Regions from separate parts of the Homo sapiens genome. Here region 2 is linked to region 1. Evidence: promoter capture Hi-C in 16 types of primary human blood cells and fetal thymus (Javierre and others, 2016). All regions are on one chromosome and are shown on one strand. The core of a region is centred on a gene start or on the middle of the fragment in contact, and the rest is flanking DNA. Distances in the headings are between cores, read along the strand shown.

Region 1 (4,803 bases), core at 1,606-4,105:
AGAGGTCCCTGGGACCATCGGCAAACCCGGCACCAAGCACTGAGGTCAGCCTGCCCCCGGGAATGGCACCGGGGGAGGAGGAGATGCCCAGGACAGTCTCCAAGGGAGTGGGCACCAGCCAGAGTTGGGACTGGGAGGACTCTGAGGACCCCTTCCACACTTTTCCCTGCGTTGAGATTCTTGGATGGCACAGGCCCATGAGACCATCAACAATCCCAGGTCTCAAGAGGCCGGGCCCCACCCTGAGCCAAGCTTGCAGAGGAGGAGGAGAAGTGCTGAGGGAAGGTGAGCACAGCCAGGCACCCAGGAAGACAGGAGCCACCTGGTCGGAGGGGAGTGATGGAAGGTCAGGGTTCCCACCCATCAGACCACAGCTTCCAGCCAGGACAGCTTGGGCAGCAGTAGTCATAGGAGACATCTGGAGGCTGAGGCTTCCCACGCGGCCCTCCTGGCTCCATTGGATGGCAGGCTCCGGGCAGACGAGCTGCCAGGTGGGTGTGGGATGCAAAGGTTTGGAGCAAGAGCGCCATGGGGAGCCTCCCCAGTGGGACAGAAGCACAGGAGTGAGGGGGTTGGGCCCTGAGGAGATCTCAGTGTCACCCGCAACGGCTGCAGTGCACGGCCCATGGAGAAAGGACATTGTCAGGTGAGACGTGGGCTTCCAAAGGCCCCAGGCTGGGGGTTCCGAGTCCTCTGATCTTTCCCTGAGGTGCTCCTTTGAGGCCTGTGGCACCCTGGGTATGTGGATTCCCGCCTCATGTGTCCACCTGACAAGCACTTCTCCCCTGGACTCCTGTGCCTGCTCCATCACCTGCACCCTCTCTTAATTAGCAGGTTGGAGAGTGGGGTCCACATTGAATGGGACGTTGTGTTGACTCAGAATTGCTCCCAGCTGTGAGGAATTGTTAAACCCCTACATTAAAACGCAAGCAGCTGGCATTGAGCCTAGGGACAGAAAGAAAAGCCGGCCCCTCAGCCTCACCCTGCCCCCAGGGTGGCCTCTGTGAGCCAAAGCCCTGAAGTGGAAGAGCCTCAGGAGGAAGGCAGTCTGAGCCATGGGCTGGCAGCTGCAGGAAGTACAGCTCCCGCTCCCAGTGAGGCTGCTCCCACTTCTCCTGCTCAAACCTGGGGCTCCAGGAGAACTGTTTGTAAAGACTGGGGGAACTTCTGGAAGAGGAGTGATATCTCTGTCCACTCCAGGGCTCCAACACTCCCAGCACTGTGCCAGGACATGGCCCCCACTTAGGATGACCGCTGCCCGGTCGGGCTCCCCTAAACGCAGCCTCTGTGGCAGGCCTAGCCCGAGCAGCCCTCCCTGGAAGCCGTGTGTTCAGCTTCCCTTCTCTCCAGCTCCTGCTGCCTCCTCTAAGACAGGGCAAGGGGCAGGCCCGGGGTCCCCTCCACTTCTGACATCCAGTCAACTTGGATCAGGCCTGCAGGCCTGGGTGAGTTCCTGGGACTCTCCCAATAAGGTTTTAAAAAATCTTTATACTTTAAAAATTTCTGCCGGGCCCAGTGGCTCACGCCTGTAATCCTGGCACTTTGGGAAGCCGAGGTGGGTGGATCACCTGAGGTCAGGAGTTCGAGACTAGCCTGGCCAACATGGTGAACTCCTGCCTCTGCTAAATATACAAAAATTAGCCAGGTGTGGTGGCGAGTGCCTGTAATCCCAGCTACTCGGGAGGCTGAGGCAGGAGAATTGCTTGGACCTGGGAGGCGGAAGTTGCAGTGAGCTGAGATTGCACCATTGCACTCCAGGCTGGGTGACAGAGCAAGACTGTCTCAAAAAAAATAAAAATAAAAAAATAAAACTTTCTTATCAAAAAACAAGCAAAAGCCGCCTCGTGATCTGATCTCACCCTACTGCTACATCCTCCTTGTGTCTCCATCTGTGAAAGGGTGACCAGCCTTGGTTCTATGCAGGGTGACTGTGAAAATGCCATGGCTCATGGGGGCCAAACATGGTGGTAGGGCCCACTGTGACAAGGGTGAGGCTGGGCTGCACAGGCTCAGCTGCCCACAAACAGCTCTGGGGGCTCTTGGGATGGCTGAGGCTGCTCTTGATGAGCTCAGGGAAGAAACACAACAGAGACTGGTCAAAGGAGAGGACACAGCCTTCTGCCCAATGTCCAAGAGCCCGAGCCCAGGAATCTCCCTTGAAACACACACTCTCACACACACTCTCACACACACACATGCTCTCACTCACTCACACTCACACACACTCACATGCACACACACTCACACATTGACACCACTGTCAGCTCAGAAATCTCCCTTGAAACACACACACTCACACACATACACATTCACACCACCATCATCCCAGAAATCTCCCTTGAAACACATACACACTCACACACACACACACTCACACACATTCCCAACACCATCCCAGAAATCTTCCTTGAAACACACACACTCACGAACCCTCACACACACACACACACACACGCACACATTCATGACACCATCCCAGAAATCTCCCTTGAAACACATACACACTCACATACACATTTACGCCATCATCCCAGAAGTCTCCTTTGAAACACACACTTTCACACACTCACACACACACACTCACACACACTCACATTCACACCACCATCATCCAGAAATCTCCCTTGAAACACACACACTCACACACACATTCATGCCACCATCATTCCAGAAGTCTCCCTTGAAACACACACACACACACACACACACTCACACATACACATTCACGCCACCATCATCAGACCTTCGTAGATAGACACCCAGAGACCTTGGTCTGAGTGAGCTGGCGGCATGGAGCGACTGAGCATGTGCAGCTCCCACATCGCTATATAAAGATGGGGATGAACTCTGTGGCTGTGAGTCACCATAACTGCGACACTCACTCATTTGCGCTTCACCAGACACAGAGCAACCGCCAGCCCCAAGAGCAGCTCCAGGCTGGATCTGCGCCGGACACAGGAGAAAGCAGCGGGTAGGCTAAGCAGGGGTGCTGAGGATGGAGGAAAGTTGGGAGGCTGAGCACAGCTGAAGTCCTGAGCTCCCTGTGCCCTTGACTTCTCTGTGGGCTCGAGCAAGGACCATCCCAACTCAGGATGAACCCTCCTTCGGGGCCAAGAGTCCCGCCCAGCCCAACCCAAGAGCCCAGCTGCATGGCCACCCCAGCACCACCCAGCTGGTGGGACAGCTCCCAGAGCAGCATCTCCAGCCTGGGCCGGCTTCCATCCATCAGTCCCACAGTAAGCCTGGGCGAGCATGTGCATGCACAGAGCCTTCCCTGACCCCTTCCTGGTCCCCTCCTGGCCACACACAGGGGCTTTGACAGGGAGATAGAAAAGGTCTGAACTCTGCTGTGGGGCCTTGAGCCATTACTGGACCTCTCTGAGCCCGCCCCTGATAAACAGGCTGATAGAGGAGGGTGCAGGCAATGTCCTTCCTCATGGAGAGCATTCAAGGAACAGAAATGCCAGCCCTGAGGACAAGGGGCTGGAATGGCCAGACCTGTCCTTGGCTGCACTCATTCCTTTCAGAGGTTGCTCGGATGCCCCATGGAGCCCTCCAGGGAGGAGGGCACACCCTGGGCCTCTGGATCTGCCAAGCCCACAGTGAAGCCTTGGGTGCCTTCTGCCACCTCCATCATCCTAGCCCAGGCCCAGGGCCATATTCCATCAACACCACTGCTACCTGGGGAAGGCCGAGGGCACCCTCAGGACCTGGGGATGCTGGCCCAGGTGCTGGACAGGATGGGAAGGCTCCGGTAGCTATAGGGGCCACTGCGGCAGGACAGAGACCAAGCCACCCTCTCTTCCCCAGAAAGGGGTTAGGGTGGGAGGAGTCTTTAAATCCCTTTGTCCTGACCTGATATGGTCATGACCTCCCTTCAGTGACCCTGGGAGGCCTAAGCTTTCTTTCTAAAGGGAATTCCCTTCATTTTCATGCCAGGCATCAAGGTTAGCTGTACCCAGCTATGCTATTGGGCAATGCAGCTTCTCCTCTAAGGCTCAGTAGGGGACGGGACTCTTGAGAGGGGCTCCACCCGACTCACCACCCCAGCGTCTAGAGGCCTCAAAAACTGTCTTGGGCCCTTGGGCTGGAGTCCATACTGCAGGCAGGGATGCACCCAGGAGTTGGCTCTGTCTTCTCCCTAAGGAAAGATAGGGTGACCAGGGCCATGTCCCTGCTTGCCAGTCACATGTCTGTCTGTCCTACCAGCCTCCAGCAGGTGATCTGAGCCCACTCCTAGAAGGCCCCTGTGCCATGTTCTAGGAGCTTGGGCTGGACTTTAGAAAGGACCTGCACTTCCCTTCTGCTTTTGGCCACTTGTGAGCTGTGTGTGCAACTGGCTTTGCCACTCTGAGCCTCAGTTTTCCCACCTGCCCTGTTGAGAATCCTAACTCTTCCTTCTCAGGACTATTTGAAGGTGACAAGCGATAACATGATTCCCTCGTTTCTCTGTCTCTCCGCAGGCACCTGGGACTTGGGCTGCTGCCTGGGTCCCCCTCCCCACGGTTGATGTTCCAGACCATGCCCACTATACCCTGGGCACAGTGATCTTGCTGGTGGGACTCACGGGGATGCTGGGCAACCTGACGGTCATCTATACCTTCTGCAGGTGCCTGGTTGGTGGTGCTGGGCCCAGGGCACTGAGGGTGGCAGCCATGCAGACAGGGAAGAAAATGCAGGCAGGAATGTTGACTCTAGCTCTGGCCAGGGCACTGTTGAGGCTAGGCAAGGAGGGCAGGGCCATGCCTTCGATGATCTCAGGCCCAGACCTTCCTGAAGGTCACGGAAAGGGCCAAAAATGGT
Region 2 (4,803 bases), core at 2,304-4,803, 260 kb after region 1:
TGTTGGCCAGGCTGGTCTTGAACTCCTGACCTCAGGTGATCCACCCGCCTCGGCCTCCCAAAGTGTTGGGATTACAGGCGTGAGCCACCACGCCTGGCCAAAAAGTGAGAATTTTTTTACGTTATTAAAATATTCTGTATCTTAATTGTGGTATTGGTGATTACATGATATAGATTTGTCCAAGGCTTGTTGAACTTTTCTCAAAAAGGGTACATTTTATATAAATTATACCTCAATAATCTTGACTTAAAAACTTACAGGCTGAGGCAGGCAGATCACTTGAGGTCAGGTGTTCGAGACCAGTCTGGCCAACATGGTGAAACCCTGTCTCTACTAAAAATACAAAAATTAGCTGGACGTGGTGGCAGATGCCTGTAATCCCAGCTGCTCGGGAGGCTGAGGCAGGAAATTGTTTTAACTGGGGAGGCAGAAGTTGCAGTGAGCTGAGATTGGCCGCCGCACTCCAGCCTGAGCAACGGAGCGAGACTCTGTCTCAAAAAAACAGAACAAAATTTACAAAAGGATTCTATAATAAATGATACATAAAGTCACTTTAGCTTTGCACTAAATCTAGTCCATTTTAGAAGCATTTCCAACTTGGAGCATAATGTTCTTTTTAATTTAGAATGATCACTAATGCTTCTGAAAATGAAAGATAACAATCCATGTACATCTTTTATTTAACAAATATTAAAGTACTTCTGATATTGTCCCAAATAAATACTTATATTCTGTGAGCAGGGGATGGAATTCAAGCAAATATATATGTAAATAAGAATAAAGTTATGATTGTGTTAAGCGCAGCAACTGAGAGGTTTTGTGTGCTATGAAGGTGTTTAAGTGAGAAAATAGCACTCTAAGTAAAGGGAACTGGATATTCAAAAAAACCCAGCGACAGGAATAAGCTTGAGTGAATTCTAAAAGTTGAGATAAGTCAAACGAGGTTTGTGGGTGGGTGGTCAAAGCAAATAATGGGACCAGGCCAGATCAGGCAGGGTCTTATAGATGGGATTTTTAAGATCTTTAACTGTTATTTGGACTTTGCTGCATAATAAACCACCCCAAAACTTAGTGATGTGAAGCAACAAACATTATTTCTCATTCTGTGAGTCTGTGGGGCAGTTCATTTGTTGGACTTGCTTAGCTAGAGCTAGGTGGTGTAGTTCACACCCTTGGCCGACAGTTCATGCTGCCATTATTTTTTGGTCACAGGGTTCCCAAAGCAGCAGGAAGGGGGCAAGCCCCAGTCCACAAACATTTGTCAGGTCTTTGCTTGCATCACGTTCGCTGTTGTTCTTTTATCCAAAGCAAGTCATGTGGCCTAAGCCCTGAGTCTGTGGACCAAGACTACCCACGACTGTGTGCACTGGGAGGGTAATTATTATGACCATTTTTGCAAACAGCCAGCCACTTGAATAACCTGTTTATGATTTCAGAATACATTGTACATTGTTTCATACTTTAAAGTACATTATGGCCGGGCATGGTGGCTCACGCCTGTAATCCCAGCATTATGGGAGGCCGGGGGTGGGGTGGATCACCTGAGGTCAGGAGTTCAAGACCAGCCTGGTCAACGTGGCTAAACCCCATCTCTACTAAAAATACAAAAAAATTAGCTGGGCATGGTGGCGGGTGTCTGTAATCCCAGCTACTTGGGAGGCTGAGGCAGGAGAATCACTTGAATCTAAAAGGTGAAGGTTGCAGTGAGCCGAGATCGCGCCACTGCACTCCATCCTGGGTGACAGAGCGAGACTCCATCTCAAAAAAAAAAAAGTACATTATAAGTTTTTAACTGGAGTTGGTTGGGTACACCATGCTTTTTGATGAGATGGACTACCCCTTTGCCAGTCTTAATGGGTTTCTTTCATCAAGAGCTCAAACCTTTTACTTTTTTCTATAAAGGTTCAGCGAACTATTGCCAAACAGATTCAGATGGTCCGGCAAGTTGGTAAAGGCCGATATGGAGAAGTATGGATGGGCAAATGGCGTGGCGAAAAAGTGGCGGTGAAAGTATTCTTTACCACTGAAGAAGCCAGCTGGTTTCGAGAAACAGAAATCTACCAAACTGTGCTAATGCGCCATGAAAACATACTTGGTGGGTACACACTGATTCAGTCAATTTCATTTTTGACAAGGCTAGTGAGGTACAGGTGGAAGCCTCCATATGTGCTTTGAAAATGTGTGAGTTCAACTATATACATTTGGCTAAAGGAAACCTAGTAGAATACACGGTTTGAATAAAACATAGTCCGGAATGCCAACCAAGATCTTTCTTTACTAACCAGCTGAAGAAACAGCAGTGAGTTTCAAATGGAAAATAATACTAGTTTATTGGACTTACTCCCATAGTAATGAAAACCCAGTCTTTTATAGATAACTTAAGCAGTGATTTAGGGTAACATTAACATATGTGCCTTTTCCCTTTCATAAGCTCAACAGCCCAACATGCAGTTTCATTGTACGTTCTGTGTTTAATGTGTGTTTCCCCCCATCTCCACATTTACACAATAGCAAAGTAATTTAGGTGTGAGCTGGTCAGTCAGGTACATAAGCCGATCTGGCTATCCTGAGTTTTCTTTTCCCTTCACCTCTTGTTTTCCTCCCTTTAATTTGGAGAGCCCATAGCATGTTGCCAAGCAGGCAATTGTATTAGTTTCCTAGGGCTGCTGTATCAATTACCACAAACTGGGTGGCTTCAACCTCCAAAACGTATTCACTCAGTTTTCGAGGCTAGAAGTTTAAAACCAAGGTGTTGGCAGAGCTGTTGTGTCTCTGAATACTCTAGAGGAGGAGCCTTCCTTGCCTCCTCTGGCTACTGGTTGGTGGCCAGGAATTTTTGGTGTTCCTTGGCTTAGTATAGACAACACTCTAGTCTCCATTTCTGTCATCAGGTGGCCTTCTCCCTGGGTGCCTGGGTCCACATTTCCACCTTACAACATCACCAGCCATTGAATTCGGGCCCACGCTAATCCTGTATGAGTCATCTTAACTTGATTACATCTGCAAAGACCCTCTTTCCAAATAAGGTCACGTTTATAGATGACATGGATTTTAGACATGAATTTTGTCGGGGAGCACTGTTCAGCTCAGTACATAGCACTCACTGACCTTTTTCTGGAGGGAAGAGGGTAGGAGAGAAAGGAAAAGAGCAGGACTGTGGGCCTGGCAGTCAACGAGCCAGACTGAAAAGGCAGCTGTGATGAGTCACTGATGGGCAAATGGGAGTTGGCTTAATTAGGAGCTAACTCTTAGTTGAACATTCTTAATTTTATAAAAGTGTCCACTTTTTGCTTTGAAATTGAGAGCCTTTTCTACTAGAGAATCATGTAGGTTGATAATATTCTCCAGGTTATTTGTATAATATGTCATCTTTTTCTTTTCTTTCCTTTTCTTTTCTTTTTTTTTTTTTTGAGACGGAGTCTCATTCTGTCGCTCAGGCTGGAGTGCAGTGGCGCCATCTTGGCTCACTGCAACCTCTGCCGCCAGGTTCAAGTGATTCTCTTGCCTCAGCCTCCAGAGTAGCCGGGACCACAGGCACTTGCCACCATGCCCAACTAATTTTTGTATTTTTAGTAGAGACGGGGTTTCGCCCTGTTGGCCAGGCTGGTCTCGAGCTCCTGACCTCAAGTGATCCTCCTGCCTTGGCCTCCCAAAGTGATACAGGTGTGAGCCACCACACCCAGCATATATGATCTTTTTCTTAATCCTATTCACTTTCATGATTATTAAGATTATTATAAATTTATTGTAGAAGTACAGATATATGTGTAAATGTAGAAATATAATTTTTAGTAACACATTCACGACTTGGTGTCAGGCGAATTAAAGTTTCACTATCTGCACATGATACCTAAGTTTTTCTCAGTATCCAGAATGAGCATTACTTCTCCCTAGCCTATCTCTGATGATAACTAACCTTTTAAACTCATCAACTGGACAGGTTTCATAGCGGCAGACATTAAAGGTACAGGTTCCTGGACTCAGCTCTATTTGATTACTGATTACCATGAAAATGGATCTCTCTATGACTTCCTGAAATGTGCTACACTGGACACCAGAGCCCTGCTTAAATTGGCTTATTCAGCTGCCTGTGGTCTGTGCCACCTGCACACAGAAATTTATGGCACCCAAGGAAAGCCCGCAATTGCTCATCGAGACCTAAAGAGCAAAAACATCCTCATCAAGAAAAATGGGAGTTGCTGCATTGCTGACCTGGGCCTTGCTGTTAAATTCAACAGGTGAGTGGTTCTTTGCCCCACTGTTTTGAAATTATTTTAATTTCCAAAAGATATTTCCCTATTTGTATTCAAGATAATGGAATTCTAAAAATGTGCATATGCTTGTTTTTAGTTACATAAATGTATAGTTGGGGGGGATTTTGTTCTTTTTACAAAAATTGTGTCCTACTTCTCCTATACATAATTCTTGATATATATATATTTTTTTGGTGTTTTTTTTTGTTTGTTTTTTGTTTTTTGTTTTTTGTTTTTTTTAAAGACAGTGTCTCACTCAGTTGCCCAGGCTGGAATATAGTAGTGTGATCTTAGCTCACTGCAACCTCGACCTCATGGGCTCAAGCAATCCTCCCACCTCAGCCTCCTGAGTAGCTGGGACTACAGGCATGCACTGCCACACCTAGCTAATGTTTTTATTTTTTGCGGAGATGGGGTCTCACTGTGTTGCCTAGGCTGGTCTCAAACTCCTAGGCTCAGCTGATCCTCCCAAAGTGCTGGGATTACAGGTGTGTGCCATATAGTCTTAGCCATCCTTCCATTTCAGCTGATGTAAATCTACTTCATTCTT

Evidence for each region. The method cuts DNA at HindIII sites, captures the fragments that hold promoters and counts their contacts. A CHiCAGO score of 5 or more calls a contact.
Region 2: a fragment that was not itself captured here is called in contact with the fragment with the promoter of OPN4 in region 1 in 1 of 17 cell types (M1 macrophages); the score reaches 5.2 in M1 macrophages.

The regions. Positions count from the first base shown.
Region 1 is chr10:86,651,692-86,656,494 of GRCh38, forward strand. It overlaps OPN4 (opsin 4), which reads left to right and starts at 2,856. Exons shown (of 10, transcript NM_033282.4): 1 at 2,856-3,236; 2 at 4,464-4,609. The coding sequence starts at 3,093. RefSeq lists an enhancer at 1-673. The HindIII fragment of the contact is 3,648 bases long and covers 251-3,898 here.
Region 2 is chr10:86,915,232-86,920,034 of GRCh38, forward strand. BMPR1A (bone morphogenetic protein receptor type 1A) reads left to right here. Exons shown (of 13, transcript NM_004329.3): 9 at 1,903-2,095; 10 at 3,941-4,238. Among named protein-coding and RNA genes, the nearest start is that of MMRN2, 40 kb to the right of the region's middle. The HindIII fragment of the contact is 5,300 bases long and covers 904-4,803 here.